Regions from separate parts of the Homo sapiens genome. Here regions 1, 2, 4 and 5 are each linked to region 3. Evidence: promoter capture Hi-C in 16 types of primary human blood cells and fetal thymus (Javierre and others, 2016). All regions are on one chromosome and are shown on one strand. Each heading gives the region's core, a stretch centred on a gene start or on the middle of the fragment in contact. The rest is flanking DNA. Distances are from core to core; before and after follow the strand shown.

Region 1 (2,700 bases), core at 31-2,530, 330 kb after region 3:
ATGCAAAAGTCTGGAGCTATAAAAGCCCAGGGCATGTTATGGAAACTCTAAGTTGTTCTAGATGGCTAGGGAGACTAGAAGACTCAGATTGTTAGAACAGACCAATTTATGCTTGTTGTCCCAGAAAACTTAATAATATGTCCTTAGTTTCAAAAGTATCCCAGATAGTCACTGTGAGTATAGTTGGGACATAAAGTCTGAGAGTGAGGTGGAAATGGGGGAGATGAAGGTGGAGAGAAGCAGCGGCTGATCGTAGAGGTCACTGTGGCCAAGTTCAAGAAAGGCATTCAGTTAACTGGGCTTCTTATGGTGTCTTTCCCTTCAAGGTTATCTTCTCCAGATATGATCTGATTCACAGATAGATCAATACAGCCACTGACAGATGATTATTGCTATGGGCTACCATTTACGGAGCGCTTACCAGGTAAGTGCTTTCCATGTAGGCTGGGGTGAGGCCCAGGTAACCTCTGCTGACTTAGTTATGCTTGTCCTTTAACTGATTCTCTGCCAGTAGGCCTTGGGTTTTGACTTGTTTTTACTGTTGTGAGGTCATGTCCTGAGACAACATTGGGCAAGTCCCAAAGGGCCTTCTGTTCCCAACTAGAAACTTTGTAAGCTTTCCCTGGAGGGGGACAGCTGAGGTCAGGAGATGGCTACTAGCTATAAACAGTTTGTTTTAAAGGACTTGTATGATGTCTGTATTGAAGGGATTCATATGAATATTCAAATGAAATGAGTTGAGTTTGTTCTAAGATGATGCAGTAGCTAGGAATGTTGAGTTAGATGTTTGGATGGGCAGCCAGGGCACATGGTTTAAACATTTGACGCACTTGAATTCAATGGATAGTGGATAGCAAGAGTGGGCATTTGAAATATGTCTGAGTGAGTGGTTTCCTCTGCAGCACCTCCTGCAACAGCTGTCCCTAAGTGGCAGGTGTGGGTTTATACCCTAAAACTGAATGTAGCAGTGCCCTCAAGCAGACCCACAAGGACTAGCTTGAGGCTGCTTTGTCTCCCAGAAAGACAGTTGGCAGCAGCTATTGGAGGGCTCTGCAGGCTTCCAAGTCCCCACCACTGCCCCAACACTTGGGTGGTCAGTGGGCACATGAGGCCACTGAGAATGGTCATGTCACCCTGCCCTTCCCATTCCTCCATTGCCAACCTACTGAGGTTTGGGGCTAGCGTGAGAATCTATTTGTGTTAGCTTGCTAATCAGGCTGTTGTAACAAAGTGCCACAAACTGGGTGGCTTGCACAACAGAAATGGATTGTCTCCCATTTCTGCAAGATAGAAGTCTGAGATCAAGGTGTTGGCAGGGCTGGTTCCTTCTGAGAGCTATGAGGAAAAACACGTTTCATGGCCCTCTCCTAGCTACTGGTGGTTTGTTGGCAACCTTTGATGGTCTTTGGCTTATAAAGTCATCACTCTGATTGCTACCTTCATTTTCACATGGTGCTCCCCCTCTATGCATGTCTGTCCAAATTGCCCCATTTTATAAGGACACCAGTCATATTAGGCTAGGGGTGCACCCTATTCCAGTAATACTTCATCTTAACTCATTACATCTGCCATGACCCTATTTTCCAGTAAGGCCATATTCACCACATGGATTGTTGGGGGACACAGTTCAACCCATAGCACTTAGGATAAATTGAAATAGCATCAGCATGAACACAATTACTCTACTGGTTACTTCTGCCAAACAACCTTCAAGTCAGAAAGAATCCTGTGGTTAAGGGAGAGGTACCGCAATCCAGCTGCAACAAGTTAAAGGTGTAGCCCACTAGCTATGGGTTAGTTTGCCCTGAGCTCTGAATGTGACTTCTTCCCTGGGAATCTTGGCTTGAGGGCACATGTGGGAGCCTGCTTGCCAGGCACAGGGTAGCCTGTGGCTTTGGGAGTCTTGTTTTAATCTGTTCTGTCACTTTCCAAAGGTCTGTCTTCTAAGCTTATGCCATTGTTGTACCCTAGAACCAACTATTTTCATTCTTTGCTGAGTACCTTTTCTGCCCATATGAATTCTCTCCTAGCCATTCTCCATACCACGCAGACGGATTGTTCTAAAACACAAATGTGATATTGTCAGTCCCTTGACTGAAAAGACCTCAACGGCTGTTGCTCTTTGGATGAAGATCAAAACACTGTTTCCTACAGGACTGGGAGGTCTCAGACAGGAGGATTGCCATCTGCATTTGCATTTATTTAAAAAACAATTGAACTGGTGACATTCTGTTTCTTGATCTGGGTGGTGCTGAACAATGGTGTTCACTATGTCAATATTCATCTAGCTCTACACTTTGATTTGTGGACTTGTCTGTACATACAATGTATCCCAATTTTAAAAAATCTTCAAAACAACTGAATGAGTTGCCCAAAGTTCTGGGAGTTCCTTGGTCGTATTACACTTTATGATCTTTTAGATCTCTTGACCAATACCATACAACTAGAGATTTTTTTCCCCCTTTCTATCTTGGGAGGAAAAAGATGGAATTAACAAACAGAGGTGATTCAGTGAGTTACATTGTGGTCACAAGATAAATTATGCACATTGCGACAAGAAAACCACATAGTCCTATAAAATTATGGGCTGTTTTTATCCAGAATTATGCTGGCTTTCTATTTCCTGTTGTTGATTAAGAATAAAGAGGGACCTGCCTGTTGCCCCTGCCTGCAGCGCCTAGAGGAGAGAGAGAAGTCATG
Region 2 (2,700 bases), core at 166-2,665, 350 kb after region 3:
TAGTTGAAGGTCAGTCAGAGACCTAGGGATAGGTCCCTGCTTATTCTTTTGAGCAGGCTTACGTGTTGGAAATCTCTAGAGAAATAGCTTTAGTTAGGTTACACTTCTCAGCAAATATTCAGTATTCCTCATCTCTAATAGCAGCATGACTGTTGTAGGGAAGGAATTTCCACAAATGGTTATGAAAAGTCTAAGTGTCTTAACTCCCAGACAAAGATAGAGAATTCTGTTAGTAAGATAAGTATGGGACTGGAGAAGTCAGCTAACCTCTGCCCTTCCCCAATCGTGATATGCTCAGAGAAGTTAAGACTTCTTTCTGTGTGAGAAATACGGGATCTTTTCCACTAGATCTTGCTTATTATCCAAGAAATTATCATTTCTAGTTTTAGAGAATGATGAAACTCATTTGTGCTTTGAAATATAACCTGTATACATGTGCACAGTAAGTCATTTAGCTATTTATTGTCAGACTCTGAGAGTTCATAGCAAACTTAGCAACATTCCATGTGCAAATTTGCATATTTTTCCCCCCATATCTTACCTACTTGCCTTAGGCTGGGAGTCTATTTTCCTACAAAACTGGTAATTGCTCTTATCTCTGTGTCCTTCAGTGTGTTCCTCTGCTTATTGAATTCAGTTTTATGCATTTAGTCTTCTCTCCTAGTATAAGCTGCTCCTGATACTTTTAAATATGTATTTCAGAAGAGAGGTGCTCAGAATTGTTACTTAACAGAATCAGCATCTCCCTTTACTTGATGCCTTGTCCTGACCACAAGTACATTAATAAAGTGACCATTTAGCAGTGTTTCGGGTTCAGCTTTTAGGAACTTAGAAGCTGTGGTTTTCCATGAGTGCACTTCTGATGACTTGGGAACATTTCATATGTGTGTTCTTTCTGTGGCCAAGATGGTTTTGTTATTTCAGGGATGGAAAGATGCTTTGCCTGAATACTCCCATGCTAAGTGTATAGCAGTTGGTGCTTGGGGAATGGTACCAAGTGTACATATCTGGCAAGGCCAGGCTAGAAGGGAAAATGTAGACTCTTAAGCTTTTTGAGACGAACTTCTCAGATACTGGATCTCTTGACTCACATAGTGGAATTTTGGGGGAAGTATGTGGTTTGCTTTTTGTCTCCTAAGAAATGATGATTCAGTTTCCTCAAACGTTTCTCACAGTCACTACTGGTTGCTTGGAATGGCTGTCTGGTTTTGTTGCTCAGTTCTTACTTCTTTAATGACCCAAGAGGATTTTCCCTTTGGGGTTGTGATGTGTTTTTGATGATAAACTTTAATGCTTTTGGAGGCTATAAAGACAATAGTATTTTCTTACCTGTTTACCTTGCACTTTGAAGTTCTGTAGACTGTAATATGAAAGAAAATCAGATTAAATTAGCTTTGCTTTCTGGCTTTTCTTTTTTTGGTGGGGGGGCAGAAGCTGATAAGAATAAATATACTAACTGAGTCTCTTCTGTATTTTAACTTCACTCCCTAGGCTGAGGCTTAGTCCTTAGAGTAACATTTGAACTGGGTAGAACAGATTTTTCTTTTCCTCAACAGCCCATTCCTGCTGTAAAGCTCAGATTTATGGTCCTTCTGGAAAAAGTATTGAGCGTTGAATAGTTCAGGAAAACAAATAACAAATTCTGTCTTCTTTGCAGGATTGTGGGGTAGAAGATTTTGATTTTTATTAGTATCTGGCCAAAGAATAAATATTAGGCAGGAACAATGAATTGATATCTAGTAGAGTGACGTGACTGGGCCCTGACTTTTAACACTTCCCAGGAAAGCTTCGTGGATGTCTTTTCCCTGCTGCGTGAATACCGGGTAGCCATTAAGTTTGGTGATTGGGTGTCAGTAATATGTTAAGTCAGCTACTGGGTCATCTTTTAATAAAAGAAAAGGATGGGGAAGAGAATGGATTCTTAAGCAGTGTTGCCTGTCAGAATCACCGGAGGGAGGTTTACAAAATACACATTCTGTACTCTGACCCTGTGGGTGGGGTATTCTGACCCAAGAAGATGATTCGTTCCAGGAATCATGCTTCTTGGATGATATTGATGTACCCCCACTGGCTTTATGGAAAGAATATTGAAGAAGAAGATAGATTCTCTTGGGGGCTGTGCCTCTAGTTTGAAACCAGGGAAGGCACATTTTGGTATTAGTCTGTGGCCTCAGTTTCTTCATCACTGCAATGAGATTGGACTATAGGTGGTCTCTAAGGTTCCTTCAGACAGTAGCATTTTATGATTTTGAAGACAACTTTTCTGAAGTACTTTTCAAACTAATTTCTTTCCGTCTTTCTTTTGTAAGCAAATAAGTAGTATGAGTGTAAGTCTCTAGCTCAGAGAAGAATGAAGTTTGCAGTTCGAAAAGGCCATGCAATAGCAGTTCACTTCCCCAAAATGCTCAGCCCTTGTAGGATGCCGTTAGGTCATCTGGAAGTTCTGTATGCCTTCACTGGGAGCGTAGTGAAGATGAGAGCCTTTCCTTTGGCTCTTGGAGTAAACTAGCTGACAGGACTTTGAGAACTGTTGGTCTCCTGATTTGTGCCACTGATAGTTTGGCTCTGGAAAACTAGGCAGTGGAAAAAACAATGCATTTTAAACCAGAAGATTTGAGTCCTGGCTCCGCTATTTCCGAGCTTTGTGACCTGTAGGCCTCAATGTCTTCATCTGTGAAGGACAGGTTCAGCTCTGATGGC
Region 3 (2,700 bases), core at 1-2,500:
TGGAGCTGAGGACAAGTCTTCCCTGGGCCTGTTTCCTCATTTGTTAAAATAGGGATCAGAAAAGTACCGACCTTATAACTTCGCGAGGCACTTAAGAGCTAGGTGCTAGGGACATGGTGAGACCACCACAATGAGTGATTTCTCTTGTCTTCAGTTATTCTTAGGGGTCATGGGGAATGTGTTCCCCTCTCCCAGCCCAGCGCTCTCCAGCCTGACAGAGGTGGGGCCTACACTGCCTGCATCCTGGGGCAACCCCAGCTCGCCGAAATCCAGCTCCAGTCCTGAATGGGGGTGAGGCAGGTGGTAACAGGTGAGAAAAAAGGATTTCCCGAGTGTGGAGCAGCGAGAGGGAGGAAGTGACTCACCAACCACAACAAAGCCTATCTCTCCGCGAGGAAGCACAGCGAAGAGTGAACGCACGCACGTGGGTGCGTTCACCCACGTGCTCGCGGGGGCGTGCGGGGCCGTCGGAGTGGGCCGGGCTGGCTGCCGCCTAGTGCTAGTCCGCGCGTGTGGGGTGAGGAGTGGTGGGGGGGGCAGGCCTATGGTGCGGGTCACTGCCTGGAGCCGCATGATGGGTGGGGGCGGAGGGACCCCTCTCCATCCAAAGCTCTGCTCTGCTGTTCCCCTCTCACCTCTGGGGGCCGAGGGGCGCGTTTCCTTAGGACCCCGGGGCGTGGGAGAAGCCCCTGCTTGGGGGGACCGTCTGCTGTTTAGGGGCTCCCCTTCGACACGTGGGAGGCAAAAGTGCAGAGCGCACCATCATCCAGCTCCGGCCGCACTGCACAGCGAGGCCGGCCCGGAGCCCGGATGCTGGGCTCGGTCCCGCCGAGGCTCGGCCTGGCTGTAAAGCAGAGGGGGGCGAGGGAAGCCGGGCCAGCGGGTGTCGCGGGTAGCCGGCGTCCGGGACGGGGTGTGGCGCCCAGAGCGCTGCTGCCTCTCGCAGCCAGGAGGCTGGATGTCGGGTTTGGGTGTCTTCCAGAAGGAGCCGCACTAGCGACGAGGGAAGAGGAACTGGCTTCCCGGGCAGTCTCCCCCGCCCCAAACTTTTCCTCCTCGCGGAGGGTGGGCGGGCGGAGGGAGGAAGCGCAGCCGGGGAACGTGGCGCCCGCGTTCCTCCCGCCCGGGGGCTGCGGCTGGGCTGAGTGTGTCTTTAAATCTGAGCCCCCCGCCCCTCGCGGTGGGGCCGGGACTCGCGGTCCGGGCGGGGGCGGGCGCGGTGATTGGCGGCCGGGTCGGGTCCGCCCCTCGGCGTTGGGTAGCGGGGCGCTGGGGAGCAGCGCGGCGCGCACGGGCCGGGGCGCGCAGGTCCCGTCGCCGGTGAGCACGGGCTCCCTCTCGCGTGGCCTCGCCGGGTCCGCCTGGCCTGCCCACCTCCGGAGCCACCTCTGCCCCCGCATGGGCTGGCGAAGTTGGGAGGAGCGAGCTGGAGCCAGAGCGCGCGCCGGGCGCGCCCCGTCGCTGCCTGACTCGGCGCCCGCAGTTCGGGCGCAGCACGCCGGCCGCAGGAGCACGGATGCCCCCCGGAGCCGCGGGCTGGCAGGTACCGAAGTGTCCTGCCCTGGGGCTGGCGAGGGGAGGGCAAATCTGGAATCCCCCGGGCACCCCCCAGCCCGAGGCTGCTCCAGACACCAACTCCCCATCCTTTGGAGAGGTGAGGTCCTGGGCCTTCACCCCACACCCGCTCAGGATTGGTCCCTGGGAGGCAAGAGGGACTCACAGGGAGCAGTTGCTGGGTGGTTGTGTGTGTTGGACCCTGGGCTACCCCCTCTCCCGAGTTCCCTGGGTTTGGTGTAGGCATGGCCTGGTGACAATTCCACTTTTCATTGCCAGACCTGGGAGCATGGCCAGGAGCTAGGGTTTCCCGCGAAGTTAGGGGGAGATTGGGGAGAGGGAAGCCGCTTCATGACCGAGATGGGGTCCTGGGACTCATCTCTAGGGGGCGTGAGGCCCTCAGACCCAGGACGAGTCCAGAAGTCTCAGCGGGCACAGGCTTTGATTCTTGGCCCAGTCTGGCCCTCTTCCTCTGTAGGCCCGGGTCTCCAAGGAGAGTACGTTTTTCAGTTTCAGAGGGTTTTCCTGAAGGGGCAGTAACCTGTCAGAGAGAGAGTGGCCTATGGGAGACCCGGCTCCTGAAGGTGGCCGGGATGGTTGGAGCCCTTTCTCTTGGGTTGTCAGAGATGGGAGTAAAGCTTCATGGCCCAGGGAATCTTCTGGGCATCTCTACTCTCCCAGCCAGAGGCCCAGGAACCAACTCCTTGGCTTCTGGGTAGAGTAACCTGAACCCAGTGGCCGAGCACCTCTTAAATGCCAGGAAGGGCACTGGGCCGTGCCCCTGGAATGTGTGGATGGAGGAGGATTTGGAGGATTCTGTCCTCAGGAGGCTCAGCCCCTGGGGGCAAGACAGGACATAAACACACAAAGTTCCCCGATACAGGGTTTCAATACCAGTCCTGAACTGGTAATAGTGGAAAGCCAAGAGGCTACACACCATTAATTGCTATGTGAGTAATGTAGGCTGCGAGAGTGCCAGGGCAGCAGAGATCCAGTTCCATGCAAGCAAGCAAATGTGCTGAAATGTTCCAGCTCCATGCCCGCCCTTCCTTATTACCTTGCTCCAAGGGCAGGGAGCAGCAGGGGCGCTGAGGAGGTTCTCCTGCACTCATCCCCACCCACTCCCAGGTTTGTTTGTTTCCTGCT
Region 4 (2,700 bases), core at 3-2,502, 280 kb after region 3:
CTAGGCCTTTAGGTTCATTCATTCCTGCCAGTAAGCTTCACACAGTGCCAGGAGGCATGGGTTCATGTCCCTGTGTTCCAGATGAGCAGACTGAAGTACACTCTTGCATTCCAGAAATACTTGCTGAGCACTAGCTGTATGCCAGACCTTGTACTAAGAATGAGGGAACCTAGCATCAACCAGACAGAGCTGATTCTTGCCCTCGTGCAGCCCACAGTCCTGTGAGGGAAATGTATTAGGCCATCAACCCACAGCCAAGCACTGACAGACTGCAGTCGGAGCTGGGTGGGGAGTAGTGGGTCGATGTGGTGGAGGATGGAGGGCGGTCAGAGGGCTTCTCTGAGGAGGTGTTGCTCAAGCTGAGACCAGAGGGACAAGCCACAGGAAGAGACCAAGTCAGGAACAATTTTACAACGTTCCAGAAGCCAACAGGACAGTGGGGCTGGAGCTGACTGGGAGGGATAGGGGCTGCGAGATAACACTGGGGAGGCAGGCGGGGGTCCATGGCTACGGGCTTTGCAAGGGGTTTGCATATATTCTAAGAGCAATGGGAAACCAGGGAAGCCTTTTAACATGGGCATTACAAGCTCTGATTTCAGGTTGTAAAGATCACTCTGACGGTGCTGTGGAAGGTTGAGCGTTAGACAGTCAGGGTAGCGAAGGGGAGATAGCAGTAGCGCTGCTTAGTTATTTGGGTGCTCTGTGGCTCAGACCCTGGAGGCCACCTTCGGGAAACTGCCTTGACGAAATTGTCTTGGGTTTTCTTTTAAATACTCATTTGATGTGAACATTGAGAACATCATGCCAAGTAAAACAAGCCAAGCTGGATGCAGTGGCTCATGCCTGGAATCCCAACACTTTGGGAGGCTGAGGTGGGCAGATCTTTGGGAGGCTGATGTGGGTGGATTGCTTGAGCCCAGGAATTCGAGACCAGCCTGGGCAACAGAGCAAGACCTCGCCTCTACAAAAAATGTAAAAAGTTAGCTGGGCGTGGTGGTGTGTGCTTGTAATCCCAGCTGCTCTGGAGGCTAGGGTAGGAAGATTGCTTGAGCCCACGAGGTCAAGGCTCCAGTGAGCTATGACCATACCATGCCACTGCACTCCAGCCTGAGTGACAGAGCAAGAGCTTGTCTCACAAAAAAAAAAAAAAAAAGAAAAGAAATAAGCCAGACATCCAGACATGTAAGGACAAACACTCCATGAGGGCACTTTGCTGGTGATTTCCAGGGGCTGCTGGAGGGTGAATGAGGGGTTAGTGTTTAATAGGCGAGGAGTTTCAGTTGGGAAAGAAGAAAATGTTCTGGAAACAGATGGTGGTAATGATTGTACAACAATGGGAATGTGCTTAATGCCACTGAACCATAGACTTAAAAATAGTTAAGATGGGCTGGGCGCGGTGGCTCACGCCTGTAATCCCACCACTTTGGGAAGCCAAGGCAGGCAGATTGCCTGGGGTCACGAGTTCAAGACCAGTCTGGCCAACATGGTGAAACCCCGTCTCTACTAAAAATGCAAAAATTAGCCGGGTGTGGTGGCTGGCGTATGCCTGTAATCTCAGCTACTCGGGAGGCTGAGGCAGGAGAATCGCTTGAACCTGGGAGGCAGAGGTTGCAGTGAGCCAAGATCACGCCATTGTATTCCAGCCTGGGCGACAAGAGCGAAACTTTGTCTCAAAAAAAGAAAAAATTAGTTAAGATGGCAAACTTTATGTTATATAGATATTACCCCAATTTAAAAAACCTCATTTGATCACAATGCTGTTTATTGCAACAGCAAAACATTAGGACGTATCTCAAATGTTTATCTATAGAAGATTGGACAAAAATCATGGTCTGTTCATATAATACAGTACTATACAACAAGAAAAATGAACAGGCCTGAACTGTACTTACCAAAATAGATAAACTTCTGTTATAGAGAATACATTTAGGTGAGAAAAAGTACTTCAGTATGAAGTAAAAAAGCACTTCCAATGGATGTCATTTCCTTAATGTTTAGAGGGACACAACACAATCTGAAAATATTCTGGGATGCTCATTTATTAAGGCTGGTGGTGGCATCTGGATAGGGTTTTGTGAATAACTCCATACTTTTCTGTATTTTGAAATATTGCATTATGAATATTTGTAAAGAACCAAAAATCCACACACAACTCATGCATTTTATATGTCTCCATAATATATAGCTTCATTTGTTTTGATATAAAACAGATTGCTGGTCTTCAAAGGACCCCACAGATAAAAGTAACAGAGAGATGGCAGATAGTGGAAGATACTGGCCCTGTCGCAATAAGCAAAATATAGAGATGAATCTCTAAATTTAACTTTTATTAAGTAAGAATTGCAATTCAAGGCATACACAGAGACCGGGTGGTCTTCAGTATGTCCAAAGAACAAAGGAAAGGTTGGGGGTTTTATTAGAAAGAGACATGATATGTATTGTGTTGAACACCAACTCATTGGCACTAGACAAGCTTTTGGGAGCTGGCAAGCTCTGACTGGTGAGTGATGGTGCTATGGAAAACTAGCCGTGGAGTCACAGCAGGTTGTTTCAGCAGCTGCTAGGTAAAACTGGTCTTGGAATTACATCAGCCTGTTTCAGCAGCTGGCCCAGTGGAGAATTTAATTCTTGGAGCAGGTGCTAGGTGCCCTGAGTGCTTTTTCCCCTGGTCCCTCAACTCTGATTTAGTTGGGTGTGACA
Region 5 (2,700 bases), core at 5-2,504, 380 kb after region 3:
CTAGTTATACCTTTGATTCTTTTACACACACACTGTAGCTGCTGCCAAGGCAGGATCAAAGTCCAAATACTGCCCTCAAGGATGTGCTGACTTTAGCAATGCCAACCAAGTGAAGCAGCAGTGATGTCAATGTGGCAGAGAAAAGGGTTATGGGGAAATTGGGTGCAACTTTTTTTTTTTTTTTTTTGAGACAGAGTCTTGCTCTGTTGCCCAGGCTGAATGGAGTACAGTGGTGTGATCTTGGCTCACTGCAACCTCCACCTCCTGGGTTCAAGTGATTCTCATGCCTCAGCCTCCCAAGTAGCTGGGATTACAAATGCCTGCTACCATGCCTGGCTAATTTTTGTATTTTTAGTAGAGATGGGGTTTCACCATGTTGGCCAGGCTGGTCTCGAACTCCTGACCTGTAATGATCTGCCCACCTCGGCTTCCTGAAGAGCTGTGATAATAGGTGTAAGCCACCGCGACCGGCTGAGTGCATCTTGACCTTTAGAGAGAAGCTTCGCTTTTCAAATTTTTAAGAGGCTATTGTACATGCCAGAAAGTAGCTGATCAGTCAGAATATCACCATATATCTTTAGGAAAAATGTTAGTTTAGTTACTTGTGCGGTGCCTAGCATTGAGCAGTTGCTTGACTGTCATAATAATTCTGCTGTCTCTACTGTACTCTTGCATCTGGATAACTTTGTCTTTCTTACCTTTGGAGATTCAAGACAAGTTGAACAAGACCAAGGATGATATTAGCAAGAACATGTCATTCCTGAAAGTGGACAAAGAGTATGTGAAAGCTTTACCCTCCCAGGGTCTGAGCTCATCTGCTGTTTTGGAGAAACTTAAGGAGTACAGCTCTATGGGTATGATGCTTGGCATATACATGCTCTCTACTTCCTTAAAGAGACAGGTTTTGTCATTGTTTAATGTTCACATAGGTTAAGAATAACTCATCATTGGTTAATACATGTTTAGGAGGGCCTACTCTCTGTTTCACAGGTTGAATTTCCTATTTTTAAAATTATGTTTAGATTCATCCTTCATCCATAAAGCAAGCAAATCTCAGAGACAGTGGAACTTGGCTTTTATTTCCTTTTGTAAGCATGAATAAAACAAATATATTTGTGTTTAAGAAGAGAGAATATAAGATATGTAATACAAATGAAATACAGATCCATGTAAAAATGTGAAATCTGCATAAAGGCACAAAAGAAAATAAGTCACTATAATTCCACTATCAAAGATAAACAGATGGTGTCTATCTTTATGCATGTAGCTATAGGTAGAGCTGTCTATATAGTTTACATCTATCTATATATGTATATCTGTCTGTTTCTGAGAATGCTAATAGTGTTTGTCTGTGTGTATACACATGTATGCATGAGCACATATGGGATGGATAAATAGACCAAATAGCTTGGTGCTTAAGAGCGTAACCCTGGAACCAGCCTGGATTCATACCTTGGTTTGCCACTTAAAGTATGCCTTTGGCGAGTTACTTCTGTATGTCACAGTTCCTGTATCTCTACAATGGGGATAGTAATAGTAGTACAGTACTTACCTGAAAAGATGATTATGGGGATTAAATGAGATCATACATGTATAAATGTTTTATAGTGCCTGGCATATAGTAAGGATTCAGTAAATGTTAAACATTATTGCTATTATTAACTCAAACAGATTTATGTTTGTTACTGATTAAGATCATATTACAAGTACTTTTTAAAAAGAAGCTTTTTAGTTTGATATATTTACAGAAAAGTAGCAAAGATGATAGAGATTTCCCTATACCCAGCTTCTCCTGATGTTAACATCCTCTATAACCATGGTACGTTTATCAAAACTAAAAAATTAACATTGGTACAGTGCTATTAACTACACTACAAATTCTATTTCTAGTTCATCAGGGTTTTTTTTTGTTTTGCTATGTTTTGTTTTAAACTAATGTTCTTTTTTCTATTCTAGGAGCCAACCAGGAGCCATGTTGCATTTTGACAAATACCCTTATTTTTTATTTTTTGAGACAGAGTCTCACTGTGTTGCCCAGGCTGGAATGCAGTGGTGTGATCTCAGCTCACTGCAACTTCCACCTTCCAGGCTTAAGCAATTCTCGTGCCTCAGCCTCCCAAGTAGCTGAGATTACAGGCGTGCGGCACCATACCCAGCTAATTTTTTGTGTTTTTAGTAGAGATAAGATTTCACCATGTTGCCCAGGTTGGTCTCGAACTCCTGAACTCAGGTGATCTGCCCACCTTGGCCTCCCAAAGTGCTAGGATTACAGGTGTGAGCCACTGTGCTCGGCCTTGACAAATACCCTTACAATTTCTAAGTGACATGTGTTGAGGTCTTGACATTGAATAGTACAAAATTTGATATAGTCTAGGATGTAGATGAATAAAGCAGTGGTTAGCACTCTAAAACCTGGTGTTAAAGATTTCCATGATTATGAGACCTGGTTGCCGCCATCATATTGCCTTCTCTTTAATGTTTAAGTCACTGTCCATTGCTGTATTCTCTAGCATCAGTAAAAGAACAGGAAATGAAACCAGTTATCTTATTTTTGAAAGGCTGGTGACCACTGGTCTGAAGCTGTGTATAGTACAGAGCAGTGTCCTCTAAGGAAAGAGTGAAAGTCAAACGGGCAGCAAGCCAGAGCTTGGCAGATTGCTGTAAGAATGAGTTTGTCTGTATATTTACCACTTAGTTTTC

The links. Contacts are between HindIII fragments. The CHiCAGO score rates a contact against its expected background, and 5 or more counts as called.
Region 1: a contact is called between a fragment that was not itself captured here and the fragment with the promoter of PALD1 in region 3, in 2 of 17 cell types (total CD8 T cells and naive CD8 T cells). The highest score is 5.8, in total CD8 T cells.
Region 2: a fragment that was not itself captured here is called in contact with the fragment with the promoter of PALD1 in region 3 in 1 of 17 cell types (total CD8 T cells); the score reaches 5.3 in total CD8 T cells.
Region 4: a contact is called between a fragment that was not itself captured here and the fragment with the promoter of PALD1 in region 3, in 3 of 17 cell types (naive CD4 T cells, naive B cells and endothelial precursors). The highest score is 7.0, in naive CD4 T cells.
Region 5: a fragment that was not itself captured here is called in contact with the fragment with the promoter of PALD1 in region 3 in 2 of 17 cell types (total B cells and naive CD4 T cells); the score reaches 5.7 in total B cells.

What each region holds. Positions count from the first base shown.
Region 1 is chr10:70,805,228-70,807,927 of GRCh38, forward strand. No RefSeq gene overlaps it. Among named protein-coding and RNA genes, the nearest start is that of SGPL1, 9.4 kb to the right of the region's middle. The HindIII fragment of the contact is 1,332 bases long and covers 615-1,946 here.
Region 2 is chr10:70,832,246-70,834,945 of GRCh38, forward strand. The region is part of intron 2 of SGPL1 (sphingosine-1-phosphate lyase 1); the gene reads left to right. Among named protein-coding and RNA genes, the nearest start is that of SGPL1, 18 kb to the left of the region's middle. The HindIII fragment of the contact is 738 bases long and covers 1,047-1,784 here.
Region 3 is chr10:70,477,517-70,480,216 of GRCh38, forward strand. It overlaps PALD1 (phosphatase domain containing paladin 1), which reads left to right and starts at 1,251. Exons shown (of 20, transcript NM_014431.3): 1 at 1,251-1,543. RefSeq lists silencers at 867-936, 1,137-1,586 and an enhancer at 2,581-2,700. The HindIII fragment of the contact is 7,738 bases long and covers 1-2,190 here.
Region 4 is chr10:70,754,178-70,756,877 of GRCh38, forward strand. All of the region lies in intron 19 of ADAMTS14 (ADAM metallopeptidase with thrombospondin type 1 motif 14), which reads left to right. Among named protein-coding and RNA genes, the nearest start is that of TBATA, 30 kb to the right of the region's middle. RefSeq lists an enhancer at 2,458-2,700. The HindIII fragment of the contact is 2,438 bases long and covers 34-2,471 here.
Region 5 is chr10:70,854,002-70,856,701 of GRCh38, forward strand. It overlaps SGPL1 (sphingosine-1-phosphate lyase 1), which reads left to right. Exons shown (of 15, transcript NM_003901.4): 5 at 707-854. Among named protein-coding and RNA genes, the nearest start is that of PCBD1, 33 kb to the right of the region's middle. The HindIII fragment of the contact is 936 bases long and covers 787-1,722 here.